Regions from separate parts of the Homo sapiens genome. Here all the other regions are linked to region 2. The links are contacts of gene promoters, found by promoter capture Hi-C in blood cells and fetal thymus (Javierre and others, 2016). All regions are on one chromosome and are shown on one strand. Each heading gives the region's core, a stretch centred on a gene start or on the middle of the fragment in contact. The rest is flanking DNA. Distances are from core to core; before and after follow the strand shown. Region 1 holds the start of TAL1 (TAL bHLH transcription factor 1, erythroid differentiation factor). Region 2 has its middle 28 kb from the start of LINC01738. Region 3 holds the start of CMPK1 (cytidine/uridine monophosphate kinase 1).

Region 1 (4,838 bases), core at 2,207-4,706, 480 kb before region 2:
CTGCCTCCCCACCCTAGGCCTCAGGCCTGGGATCAGGGCCCACTCGAGCTGGGACTGCACTAGCCAGGAAGGCTGCCGCCTTCCTCCTGCGGGAGCTCCAGGCACAGTCTGTACCACCCGGATACAGCCGCCCCAAAGTTACCGGCCTTGGGAAACGTCCACAGAACCGGGACCAATGGGAAAGGCCTGGACGACTAAGTCCAACTAGCTGGTTTTACCCTGGGTGGAAAAGGGAAAAAGCCGCTGAATGCCACAGAGGCAGCTACAGCAGTCAGATCCCGATTCCAAGCTCTGGCTGGTCCTCCCCTCCCCCCACCCCCAATCTGAGAATGGGCTCTCCTCTGTCCTGAGCCTTCCTCACCCCAGGCCGGAACACAAGGCCTTCCTAGACACCGTTTCCACCGGCACCATTCCCCTGAAAACTCACCTGGGGCATATTTAGAGAGACCGGCCCCTCTGAATAGGATCTCCACTCCGCCGGAAAGGGGCGGAAGCCGAGGAAGAGGATGCACACCCGGGTCTTTGCTTTCCCCCTTTTTCGCTGAGAGGCCTGCAGTTACGCTGCGGTGTGGTCCTGGGCGATCTGCCGCGCCCAAAGCGAGTTTCCAGGAAAGATAGGGGTGGAGAGAAAGAGGCAGGGCAAGAGGGAGGGAGAGAGAGAAATGGGGGTCAATGGCTGGGAATTACCTCCTGTCCCCGACCAACCAGTCCAGGGAATCGCAAACAGCTTTCCGCCCCCAACCTGCAGGTGTTTGGAGCCTTTCCTCTACCCCCTCCTCCCCCCACCCGCCTTAAAAAACCCTATACATGACCAATCAGGAATAGCTATTTAGTCCAACAGCAACAACAACCCCTCCCGACAGGCTGTCTGGAACATTTTCGAACCCTCCAACTGGGATCGGTCTGGTTCAGTGTTTGTTTTCTAAGCAGGGAGGTGTCTACGCGGTTGCCTCCTCAGCCAGGTCTCCGGCTGCCGCTACACCGCGAAGGGATAGTCCCGGGCCTGGATGGGCGGAGGTCCGTGTTGGGAAAGGCGAATAGTCTTCAGACTCTGGTCGGTGGGACAGAACCTTGAAGTCCCCCCCACCTCATTCTCTCTCTGACCCCCATCCACCCACCTCCAGCCCAAAGCGAAACCAGAACCCAATTCCAGGGGCTGTACTTTCCTACAGAAATGGAGTTGGGAAGGGGGCTTGGAGAGAGATATCTGATCTGTTCAGGTCCTTTCTCGTCTCCCTACTGATTAAGAGAAAGAAGAAAGAGAGAGGAAGAGAGAGACAGAAAAAGAAAAGGAAATAAAGACCAACAAAGGGGGAAAGAAAGAAACAAAGGGGAAAAGTCCCCCACCTTCCCCTCCACCACCCCTACGAAATGATTTTCGATTTTTCGGGGTTTAGACAGAGTAAGGGAGAATTCTAATGATTTGTTACAGCAATAAACAAGGTAAAAGGAAAGGAGGTAAAAACAAACCCGACACTACTTTCAAGGATGTAGCAGGATTGAGCTTGCTTTTATTTTTTCCTAGTGGATTTTGTTTAATTTGTTTTGCCTAAATCGTCAGGCTTATGATCACACATCGAAGTCTTGGATTAACTGCGAAGGCCTCCTTCTATTTGCCGCGGCTTTGGTGGACATATAGGAATAATTCTTCCCTGGATTGCAATACAATGCGGAAGATTTTCTTTCTCCTCTTCTAATCCAAAAGAGGGGAGGGGAGGAAAGAAGAGGGGAATCCATCCATTCCCGGCGTGTTCGCGGGGGGTTAATGTTGCGTGTTCGCTGGGGGTTAATGTTTGCCTTATGACCAAGTCTCTGTGTCCGTGCCTCTCTCCATTTTCTCTTCCTACCTCAAACCCAGCAACTTAGAAAACGGCTGTAGCGGAAAAAAACCCGCTGCTTTGTTCTCCCGCCAAAGGAGCCAAAAGGGACAAACTGCTGCGCTCTGGGATGATTATTTTAATTAAAATAGATGTTAATGATGACGATTGTGATGGTGATGGCATTAGCAATTACAATAATTGACAAAACAAAATTCTTTCAACCCGAGCTAGGGCCCCACTAACCCGGTCCCTCCCAGAGCCCGGATTCGGCCTCGGTCTCGGATGCGACGGGTATCAGACCCAAGCGGCAACGTCGCTCACCCGAAGAGGGGGCGGGAAAATCTTCCCAGGAGGTGATCCCGAATGTCCCCACCCGAGGCTCGAGGCCTGGTGAATGTGCCCATTGTCCTTTCGGGGCCTCTCCCTTGGAGCCCGGCGGCCGCACCCACGAAACTGACCAGAAATGGATGAAGCCGGAGTGCAGCGGGAACCGAAGCCCGCAGCTACCGGCTCGAAGGCGCCGGCCTCGGCGAGCGCTGCTCAGCTTCAAGCCTGGAGGAGCCTCCCACTCACCAACGAACCCCTCAAACACCTAGGCACAGGCGGGCCTCCGGGCAGAGCAGCCGCCGACCGGGCGCTGTCCGCCCACCCAAGCCAACAACTGGCTCCCGAATACATCATAATTTGGAATAAAATGTGAAATCCCGCTCCCCGCCCCCATGCCGCCGCCCCCACCAGCGCCTCGATCTCTCGCTCGCCCTCCCCCCACTCCCGCCCCCAGCGATTTGCAAACGCACCTCTAAAGGACACAGGCACACAGGCATACAACTCAGTGCGGACAGGACCACACAGGGTCCAGCCCCACAGAAGGGCAGCAAACAAACACCACCTAGCACTGCCCCAGAAGCCGACTTGGTCAGCCCCGCACACTGCCCAACAGGACACAACGAAATCAGTCAAACGCAGCGGCTCACGGACACACAATCCAGCACAGTCGGGATCACACACGCCCGACATAACGACGACACCACCCAAACACAGTCGCAGGGGCCACACACCCCCACACACAGAATCAGATCCCTGCTGAGAACACCAACGGAGCACAATCGTACGCAACGAAGAAAACGCAGAAGGGCCTCGAAGGGTCCACATCTACACACCCCAACCGCGCAGGCACACCACACTCGGACACAGAGCCTGTCGCCAAGAAGACCACACTTAGAAGCAGCCAACGCCGCCCACAGTTCTCATGAACGCACTCTCACAATCCCACCGCATGCACACAACCACGAAGAAGAAATGAAAACCAACCACAGCCTCGCGCATTTCTGTATATTGCGTAAGGAAAAGGGGGAAGGAAGGAAGAGAGTCTCCGAGGCGGGAGGGGCGGCGGCAGCCGGGGCGGGGGCGTCCGTGGAAAATGCCCCCCCACCGCCCCCCCCGGCCATCGAAAGGAACCGAGGGAAAGGGAGCGAAGACCTCTTTTGCGGACGTGGGGAAAAAGAGGAGGAAATTGATGAAGAATTCGGTGGGAGGCCGCGGGTTGCTTTTCCCCTAGAAAAAGGCCAGAATGCTCACGTTTTTCCGCTACGGGGGTACGCGTGTGGCCATTTTGAGGCCCGGTCCTGAGCGGCGGCGGCCCGGCCCCTCCCGCGGCCCCCGCTCCCCCGCCCGCCCCGCGCCCGCCCGGCCCCTCCACCGACGCGCTGTAATCCCACTCACGTTCCAGGCCTCGTTAGCATGGGCCGAGGCGCGCCGGGGCCGTGTGCGCCGCAGAGATAAGGCACTGCCGCGGGTCCGCCCGCCCCCGATAAGCGCCTCGGCCATTATGGGCCAAATGATTCATTTTAATTTGGCAATTTCACCGGAGGGAGTGGGGACTGGTTGAGCGGCGCTAGGACCGGCTCCGGAACGCGCTGCGGGGAGCGTTGGACGCGCTGTCTAGGACCCAGCAGATCCAGCCCCCATCTCTAATCCCAAGGCCTCTCAGGAACCCCAGCTTCCCACAACCTCAGTCCCTTAACCTTTCAGACACCTTTCTTCAGCGACTCTCACCCCAGCACTCTGTCCCTACCTCTGAAGACCACCATGATACCAAAATCGTCACCTCCCAGGGCTTCTTTCTTATTCTTCCTCCAGTGTCCCAGACACCCAGATTTCAATGGGCAGTCTCCCTATCCCAGAAAGCTCCCCAGCCCTTCCCTACCTCTTCACCCCCTTCTAAAATAGAGCCGGTAACTCAAATCCATGGGCTCTACGGCGGCCTGGCAGAACCCCTGTCAATAGGGACATAAAATGCCTATTCTGCTAGGTTTCAGGCTGAGCCCAGAGCCCAGGAACACTGCTCCCCACATGGTATTTAAAAAAAAAAAAAAAGTTTAATCTAGCGACTGTAACACTATTCTAGGCATTCTGCAAATACTAATCTACTCTTCACAAACAGTCCTGAGAAGCTGGATCCTTAATTTACAGAAGAGAAAACTGAGGCACAGAAAGTCAAAGTAACTTTTCGAATGATACATAGCTAGTGCTTGGTGGAGTCTGCCTTGGAAGGAAATTTGACACGGAGTCTTCTCTGCGGCTCAGCTGATGAAGAGGGGCAGCCAAAACCTAGCCAGGGAAAGGGACCTGGGCTCAACTCATTGCAGAGACCAGGGTCTTTACTGTGGGGTAGAAATCTGAGTTCAGTGCCAGCTGGATGATGCGCTCAGCCCACGGAGGGTCTCTGGGTTCATTCTTTCATGGTGGAGTGGAAAGAACACATGTTCGAATTTTAGTCACTGATCTCTGAACCTCAGTTTTCTCATTTGTAAAATGGGGAGATAATGTCGACGTCACAAAGTTATGAGAACTAACTTATATGACCTTTAAAAGGTGGTGGTGAGGATAATAATGTATGGAACGTCACTCAGTCCACAGCCCAGGAAAACATCATATGCACTTGCATGGGAGTTCTGGTTATCATCATAGAGAAAGAAATTAAGACACAGAGAGATGTGACTTAGCCAAAACTTACAG
Region 2 (4,367 bases), core at 1,228-3,727:
CCTACCATGTGTCCTAACTGTTCAAAATGCTGGGGCTACAACCATGAACAATGAGGCAAAATTGCAAACCTCATAGAGGCTGGATGCTAGTTAAGGAGACAATGTTTATGTAAACAACAACCAAAAAATCAAATCCTAGCCCTGCTGTGTGACTTTGGGCAAGGCACTTAGCCTCTCTGAGCATGAGTGTCTCTCTTTGGGATGTTACCTAATGACTCCTGCCTTACAGAGCTACTCAGAGAGAATGTATGTAAACTGAAACTGCATTGCAAACTGGAAAGCTTTGTGCTTATATGCATTACTCTGCATGTAAACATGTGTGCTTGCCAGCACCCATTTTCCTTGGCTCAGTGAACACAGCACCTGTGGGACTCCGGAACTGGTCCCAAATTCCATAAAATCCACAACGCCTCCCACCAGAAATGTAGGGAGGGAACCATATGGCTCTGATATCCTGACTTTGGGTTTGGTTTTGCCCCAAGACAACACATCCTGCAAGTTTCTCTGCTTGTAACTTAAGTCCCAAGCCTCTTGCTCTAATAGCTTTCATGTTAAGGAGGGCAGAAAAGGTTGAGCTGAACATTGGAAATGCCCTAAGCCTGGAGAGAGGTCTGGCTTCAGTGAAGGGGACATGAGCCTGGCCCCAGGAAGTGGAGAGGAAACCCAATGAGGGTGGACTGACAGAGGTGCTACTATCATCAATAATGTCATTCTCCAAGTCCTCCCTTCCTGGCTCTGAGTGAGTAAAACACTCACACTCCACTGCTCTCAAAGGGCTTGACACCAGTGCCCAAGCACTGGCCTCACTGAGGCTCTCAACATAAATCACCTATCCTGATCCAACTCCTGCCAATGCTGCCTAACCCAGCTCAGTCCTGCTCACCTAAGTATAGCCCAAACTTTCCAACATAACCTAGTCCAACCCATCCAACACCTCTCTTAACCTAGCCTAGTCCAACCCAGGCAACCTCGTCCATTGCAACTCATCCCAACCCAACCTGTGTAGCTCAATGGTGGTAGAAACTGTAGACTGATTCATTCAGCCCCTTTCCCTCTCTCCTTCTAGTGTGCCTTTTTATCTCATAGGGGCTGAAAAGCTAAAAACTGTATTTCCCAGACTGCCCTAGAGTTAGAATGCAGATGTTATGTAGGTTTTACCGCATGCCATACATTCATGCAAGGCTTGAAGTCAGAAGTGTATTGAATGGGCAGAAAGGCAAGGAATGAGCCGTCCTTTCAAAACAATAACCATAGAAAAAACTCATGCAAAAGAAGAGAGAAGAGTGTGATGTACCTCTATCTGTATGACCCAGATTCAACAATTAGGAACATTTTTCCAATTTTGTGTTACCTGCCCAAATAATTTCCTCACCGTACTTTTTTTTATCTGGAGAGAAACCCTGTCAATGCTTTCACTGAAGTGTGCATTTAGCTAGTGTGGACATGCAGGTGAGCATGTTTCTTGAGTCAGAAGCCAAATTGGTGGCTTCCTGACTTGGCAGATGGTTTCCTAATGGTTGCAAAAGGAGCAGCTGCCTTGGTGGTCCATTCTGCAGCCTAACTTTGGGAGTTGGTCCTGAAGATGAAGCCTAGAATCTGTTTTCAGCTCTCCAAATATTTCTGTGAGCCATGAAATACTGTTAATACATTTATTTTTGCTTAAACTATTCAGAGTAGATTCTGTCTCTGAAACTAAAAGCTAATACATCCCCAACCAAATATATCCTCAGCTCAGTCTAACCCTGCTAAAAACCAACCCATCCTAAAATCATTCCAACCCACCCAAGCATGTTAAATCCAGCCTGATTCAAATTAGCCTAGCTCAGCCAAACCCAGCCCCAACCAAGCTATGCCTGACTCACCTCTTTCTACCTCAGCCCATCTAAACTCAATGCAATCCATCACATCTCAGCCTAGGTCAATTACCTTAATTTAAACAAGCCATTTAATCTGCACCTCAGCTTATATGACCCATCCAACTCATCTCAACTCAGTCTCTCCCAGCCCTAATCCCAACCTACCCAATGAATCTCAACCCAACCCATTCCATGGGAGTTGAGTGACACAGCCCATTTAATTTCACACGTATTTACTGAGTATCTTTTGGGGCCCCTGTGAGAGAACAAAGGGAACTTGAACTTCTTTACAGATGTAAGGCTGCATTCTTTTTTTTTATGCATTTCCTTTGTTCTTTTTTGCCTCCTTCTTTCCGATATCCCCCCCACTATAGACCCTGCCTCCTTGTTTACGTCCTTTCACCTTGGCTACCCAGTGTCCCCACAGTGCTTTCCAGGTGTTCAAGACCTCCAGTGGGAAGCCCCTCTCCTTCCCGGTCCTACCTGCCTGGAGAGTACCCCTAGAACCTCCACTCCTGCAAAGCTTATCTATTGTAGTAGTCAGAATTTCTAAAATGGGCTCCCAAAGATGCCCTTCCCTGATTCCTGAAACTTGTGAATATGATTAGACATCGCTCCTGTGATGATGTTATGTTATATGGTATAGTTGGCCTTAAGATAGGGAAGTTATCCTGAAGTATCTGGTGGTCCCAGTGGAATCAGATGAGCCCTTAAAAGCAGCAAGCTTTCTTTAGCCAACAGCAGAAAAGGAAGTCAGAAGAAGGAGATCTTGGAGATATTTGAAGTATGAGAATAACTTGCTGCATCATTGCTGGCTTTGAAAATGGAGAGGACCATGTGAGAAGGAAAATGAATGGCCTTAAGGAGCTGATGGCTAGCAAGGAACCAGGGACTTCAGTCTACAACTGCAAAGAACTGGATTTTGCCAACATCCTGATTGAGCTTGGAAGGGCATTTTTCCCAGAGCCTTCCCATAAGACCCCAGATGGCTAACACCTTGATTTTAGCCTGTGAGACCCAGGGCAGAAGACTCACATAAGCCCACCCGGATTTCTGGGCTACACAATTATACCATAGTAAATAGGTACTGCTATAAGTTGCTAAATTTATGGTAATTTGTTTCATAGCAATAGAAAACTAATATGCCTAGCCTGTGTTCACTCTCTCAGAATTATCTTGATTTTTTTTTTTTCCTAATCAACCTAAGAGATGAATCATCACAGAATAGGGAAAGAATACAGTATTGAACACAAATACACCTGGGTTCCAATCCTGGCTCAGTCACCTACTAGCCATGTGACTTCAGCCAAGTTACATAACCCTTCTAGGAAGAGCTTTATTCATCAATAAAATATGAGGATGATAACTTTCCTGGTCAGTTTGCTTGGAAAATTAAATATAATGCACATTGCATGTCTGACACATAGTAGGGGCTTAAATGTTTCTTTTACTTGTTTGGGATAGCAATAAGCTAATATTAAGTAGTCAGTTTAAAGATGTTAGAGTAAGTGCAGTTATTTTTTTCACTACCATCATTAATAGTCGGACAATTTTAATAGCACATCACTGACTTGACCTAGAGGGAGAGCTACTAGTGGAATTGAGGCCATGCTGATGAAGAGGGGTACTTGGTAGAGTGCCCAACATCACAGATCTCTAAGCCTATGTCAGAGTCTGGGTCTTGGATTAGTCACTGGACACACTATGAGACCAGGAGGAAGGAAATAAGCGGTGAAAATGACCCAAAGTTAAATTGAGAAATACATGCTGTACTCTGGAAATGAAATCACCTGATCTCCCTTTCTGGACCCAGGGAGCAGGTGACCCCAGCCACGGCTTCTTCTTTCAGGAACTGCAAAGCAGGCAGGACTGAGCTCATACTGCCACATCCTGCTCAATCTAGGAGGGTATCAGGAACCAAGCCATTTCCCTTTCTTCTCCCCAAGTCTAAACTTTACAAGTTATCAGAGAGAGCATAGAACAAGCAATCTTGAGTGTGTGGAGAAGGAAGACCTATTGAACTTTTCAGAGCTCTTCGGGGTTCAGCATTTTGTCCCTCTCCTTTTCCTCCTATCCTCATAGCCCCACTCCTCATCTACATGGACCCTTGGGGCCGTTGGATTTGGTGGTATCCTGTAAAGGTCTCCAGGCTTGTCAGAAAGCCTAGGTTCTGGTCCGTGGTGTGCAGAGCTTGTTTGCACCCACTGGCCAGAGCTGACCGTAAGTGCCTCTATTCAACTGCACTATCAAGTGATCTCACTTCAGTTTGAAATCTGCCATGGTGAGAACACACCATAGAAACTGGCAAAGACTGCAAATCAGGCTTTCTCTTCTCTAGAGAGCTGGTGTTAAATTTACCAGTAGACTGATGCTTCTAGCCTTGGCGGCCTGGGAAGAGGCAGATTCCTGCCCTTTTCTGGGCCTCAGTTCCCTCTTTAGTCAGTGCCTTAGCTACCCTCTAAGGGCCTTTAAAAAAAGCTCATTAGATACCAAAGAAAAGAGAGAAAGTGT
Region 3 (4,630 bases), core at 183-2,682, 380 kb before region 2:
AGTCTTCCATTCCCATGGTCTCACCCTGGACCTTGGCATCATCAGAAACTCAGAAGCTGGGACATTTCAATTCCAAATATCCCACTCAGACCAGCAGCATCCATACTGCCAGAGCACTTGCTCATATACCCCACTGCAATCTTTCTTGGGCCAATGCTCTAAGACATTGGTCCCTTTCCCCACCACCCTCCAACCCCTCCACTACCAGGCTTCATGTGCCATTATTTGCTTTCCTGTATGGTTTTGATTCTACACACAGCATCATGAACATTCTCTTCCAAACACTCTCATCACTTGGCCCCCTCTCTCTGTTGTACTTGCCAGGCAAAATCCCAACCCTCAGTAAATGCAACAAGCTGCCTTCTCTGCCTGTGCCTGAATGGCCAAACATCTTCAATTATTTTGAATCCGTTACCTCAAATATCAAATGAGCTCTTAACGTTGGCCAGAAGGCCTTTTAAAGGCCTGTATGCACCAAGGCTCAGTTCTTGAACGTCTCCTTTTCTTCTCCCTTAAGATTCTTCCCTAATGAAGGGGGCAGGCGAACGGAGTTAAAGGGCTTCCATTGCTGTTAGAATACAGCCCAAATTCCTTTCCATAATCAAAAGTCCTGATCTGCCACCGACCTCACTTTCTCAACTTTTCACCTTCCATTCTCCCCTCATTTGACTCAGCCCTGGTCTCACTGTCACTGGCCTTTTTTCCTTTTTTTTTTTTGAAGCAGTCTCATTGTCACCTAGGCAGGAGTGCAGTGGTGCTATTACGGCTCCTAGGCTCAAGTGAACATCCCAGTAGCTGGGATCACAGGCACGGGTCACGGTGCCCGGCTTTTAAATTTTTGGTCGAGACGGGGTCTCGTCATGTTGTCCAGGCTGGTCTCGAACTCCTGGGCTCAAGCCATCCTCCTGCCTCAGCCTCCCAAAATGCTGGGATTACAGGCGTGAGCCACCGCGCCCAGCCAGGCCTTCCTTCAATTGCTTTAACATGCCAAACCAACTTAGATTTTTTGCACATGCTTTTCTCTGTGGGACACTCTATCCTGGTGTTTGCCTGGTTTCGCTCTTTTCTATCCTTTTGTCTTGGCTTGAATGTCACCTCTTCTGAAGCCTTCTCTGGCGACCCTGGCCATCTTATGTCCTACTTGTTATTTCTTCAAAATCGTACTGCCTTTTGTATGTACTGGTGTTTACTCATTCACACTGGCTACCTCCCCATACCTCACTGGCTGGAATGGAAACTCATTGCGAGCAGAGACAATAGGTTTTGCTCTCCCGCGGATCACGTCCCAGCCTCCAGCTCAGCACCAGACACTTGAGGGCGCAGGATAAAATATCTGCAGTCAGAAAGCACTAATAACCACCCAAGGGTTGGAGGAAAGCTGGCGCGGACCGCACGAGTGTCGCCGAGACGCCGCCGCCGTGCGAAGCTCCTCCCCTTCCGACAGGGCCGCGGACGCCCGGGCAGCCACGGCGGCGGGGCCGCGGCGGGCGCCGGCTCAGCCCGCCCCTTTCTCCCGCCGCCTCCCCGCCCCGCCCCGCGCCGCGCCGGCCGCTGTCAGCTCCCTCAGCGTCCGGCCGAGGCGCGGTGTATGCTGAGCCGCTGCCGCAGCGGGCTGCTCCACGTCCTGGGCCTTAGCTTCCTGCTGCAGACCCGCCGGCCGATTCTCCTCTGCTCTCCACGTCTCATGAAGCCGCTGGTCGTGTTCGTCCTCGGCGGCCCCGGCGCCGGCAAGGGGACCCAGTGCGCCCGCATCGTCGAGGTGAGGCCCGGGCAGCAGGCGGGCTCCTTGGGGCTTGACGGGATGCGGGCCGGCCTGTCCCGCCGCCCCTAGTCCGCGCCCCGCGGAGTCGCCGAGCCGCAGACTACGAGTCCCGGCGGCCACCGCGCCGCCCGCGTGGCAGTGGCCGAGGGCCGCCGGCGCGCGGCGTGCCGGGACTTGTAGTCCGCGCCCGCCCGCCTTGGGGGCCACCGCTTGAGGTCGCTTTGTTCCTGCGCCCCTTCTTTTCTTACATTTTGGGGACCAGATTCGTCTCTAGAGTGGGCTGGGAGAGGGATCCCGGAGGCCAACCTTTGGGGGTCCCCCAGCGCGCAGAGGTTAGCGTGTCGCTGATCGTGTGGCAGGTGAAGGCAGCAGGAGCGCGGATTTGGGTTAGAGGCCGTGTGCGCCCACAGTTGTCTGAAGGAGAGACCTATTTTTCTTCTCCGCGCCTTCCCTCTGGTTCCCTAAACTCCGCACTGTCACCGAACGTGTCTTTACTCTAGAAAGGAGGCCCGTGGGGCGGGGTGTTATTTTAGGCGTGCTGTGGGCTGCCGCTGGCACTCTCGAGCCCCGTCCCCGCAAGCTTTAGGGCGGAGCCAGCCCTGAGGCTCGGCCCGGGTCGGGGATGGGGAAAGCCGGGAGTGCTGTTCTGAGATCAAGCTTCAACCTTTGGCCCTGCTGCCAACTCACGCTCGGCCCTCGGTCACTTCCTGTCTCCCAGCCTCAGTTAGCCCTTGTAATACAGTAAAAAGAGTCTCTGAACCCAGATTTTCTCAGGATATAAAACACCTCCCAAATGTAAAATGCTGTTACTTTTTTTTCTTTTGCTTTGAGACAGGTTACCAGTTCAATTCTTTTAACAATTTTTGAGCTAGATGTATGGTTGGTTAGCTGCATTGACACTGTGGGAAAAAAAGGCTTCATGGACAATCTGGGGAATGCTTGGGAAAGAAGGAAAACAGGATATCTAGAAACAGAAGAGGCGACCATTGGTGGCCTCTAGTGAAATCACTCTGAAACCCTGTAACCAACAAAAGTTTTTTTGACCTAGAACTTATAATTTCCTCCTCTTCTAGGATATGGCCAATATTAGCATGGGGCTTTTGCTTCTCTCCTTATATGTTCATAACAATCAACTCCTGTCCTGTATTTTATTCCCTAAATAGCATCCAGAGAAAGTTAGATGAGTTCAACAAGTCATTATGTGTTGGACAGATGTATTTATAAATATTGATCATTTTGCCAGGCGCTGTGGCTCACTCCTGTAATCCCAGCACTTTGGGAGGCCGAGGCTGGCGGATCACGAGGTCAGGAGTTCGAGACCAGCCTGGCTAACATGGCGAAACGTTGTCTTTACTAAAAATACAAAAATTAGCCTGGCGTGGTGGCGGGCGCCTGTAATCCCAGCTACTCCGAAGGCTGAGGCAGGAGAATCGCTTGAAACCGGAAGGCGGAGGTTGCGGTGAGCCCATATCGCGCCACTGCACACTAGCCTGGGCGAAAGAGTGAAACTCCGTCTCAAAAAAAAAAAAAAAAAAAAAATCATTTTAGGTGTCAAAGTGGAACTAGTCCAACTAAAAAAATACATAACATTTACATCCTCTTAAAAAAATTTTTTTTTGTTGGTTCTCTTTCTTTTGTTGTTTTTTTGTTTTTGTTTTTGTTTTTGTGACAGTCTCACTCCGTCACCAGGCTGGAGTGCGGTGGTGCGATCTCAGCACACTGCAACCTCCGCCTCCCAGGTTCAAGCGATTTTCCTGCCTCAGCCTCTGCATAGCTGGGATTACAGGCGTGCGCCACCACGCCTGGCTAATTTTTGTATTTTTGGTAGAGACAGGGTTTCACCATGTTGGCCAGGCTGATCTCGAACTCTTGACCTCGTGATCTGCCCGCCTCAGCCTCCCAAAGTGCTGGGATTATAGGCATGAGCCACCGTGCCTGGCCTTGTCACTTGTCTTTTAAAAAGTAAAGAGACTGGCTGCTGCACTCCAGCCTGGGCGACAGAGCGAGACTCCGTCTCAGAAATAAATAAATAAATAAATAAATGGCAAGTGAAAAGTGGGAGTGATTTCAAATTTTTGTTTAGTATATGTGATCTTTCTTAAATAGCATGATGGGGGAAGGGGCAAAGACTTTAGAGTCAAAGAGATATAGGTTCAAACCCTGACTCTGCCATTTACTGTTTCTCTAGGCCCAGAGATGTTGTTGCCTTTAGTTCCCTGTGAAAAGGGAAAACATAGAAATGGCTGTTTTGTATGGTATTTGTGAATATTAAATGAGGTAAAATATCTGGCACACAGAGACAGATGCAGATAGTTTTTTTCTCCACTTTAAACTTCTGATCTTATTACCTCTACTTTAAACTTCCTGATCTTATTATATTGGTTATTTTTATTGGTGGGTTTTGTTGTTGTTGTTTGTTTTGAGATCGAGTCTCTCTGTGTCACCCAGGCTGGAGTGCTGTGGTACCATCTTGGCCCACTCCAACCTCTGCCTCCTGGGCTCAAGCCATCCTCTCACCTCAGTCTCCCAAGTAGCTGGGATGACAGGTGTGCACTGCCACTCTCTGCTAACTTTTTTTCAGGTTTTTGTAGAAACCAGGGCTCACTATATTGCCCAGGCTGGTCTCGAACTCCCAGACTCAAGGGATCTTACTGCCTTGGCTTCTCAAAGTGTTGGCATTACAGGCATGAGCCGCCATGCCTGGCCTGGTTATTTTTATTGCAAAATAGTATTTTTCTTTTAAATTACTTTATGCGTGTTATATTTGAATGCATTTAAATACAGTATGCTGTTTCTGAATCATAATATGCCTTTAAAATATCTGTACCTAAATTAATAATACCCATACTACTACACTGGTTAAAAAAT

Evidence for each region. The method cuts DNA at HindIII sites, captures the fragments that hold promoters and counts their contacts. A CHiCAGO score of 5 or more calls a contact.
Region 1: a contact is called between the fragment with the promoter of TAL1 here and a fragment that was not itself captured in region 2, in 2 of 17 cell types (total CD4 T cells and naive CD8 T cells). The highest score is 6.1, in total CD4 T cells.
Region 3: a contact is called between the fragment with the promoter of CMPK1 here and a fragment that was not itself captured in region 2, in 6 of 17 cell types (M0 macrophages, M2 macrophages, total CD4 T cells and 3 more). The highest score is 8.4, in M0 macrophages.

The regions. Positions count from the first base shown.
Region 1 is chr1:47,228,769-47,233,606 of GRCh38, forward strand. TAL1 (TAL bHLH transcription factor 1, erythroid differentiation factor) reads right to left here and starts at 3,457. Exons shown (of 5, transcript NM_001290403.2): 1 at 3,399-3,457; 2 at 428-583. RefSeq lists enhancers at 1-524, 525-1,486, 1,679-2,652, 2,653-3,626. The HindIII fragment of the contact is 19,807 bases long and covers 1-4,838 here.
Region 2 is chr1:47,714,413-47,718,779 of GRCh38, forward strand. No RefSeq gene overlaps it. Among named protein-coding and RNA genes, the nearest start is that of LINC01738, 28 kb to the left of the region's middle. The HindIII fragment of the contact is 201 bases long and covers 2,378-2,578 here.
Region 3 is chr1:47,332,358-47,336,987 of GRCh38, forward strand. CMPK1 (cytidine/uridine monophosphate kinase 1) reads left to right here and starts at 1,433. Exons shown (of 6, transcript NM_016308.3): 1 at 1,433-1,759. The coding sequence starts at 1,589. RefSeq lists a silencer at 1,346-1,985 and enhancers at 1,372-2,175, 2,176-2,979, 2,496-2,555. The HindIII fragment of the contact is 8,075 bases long and covers 1-2,340 here.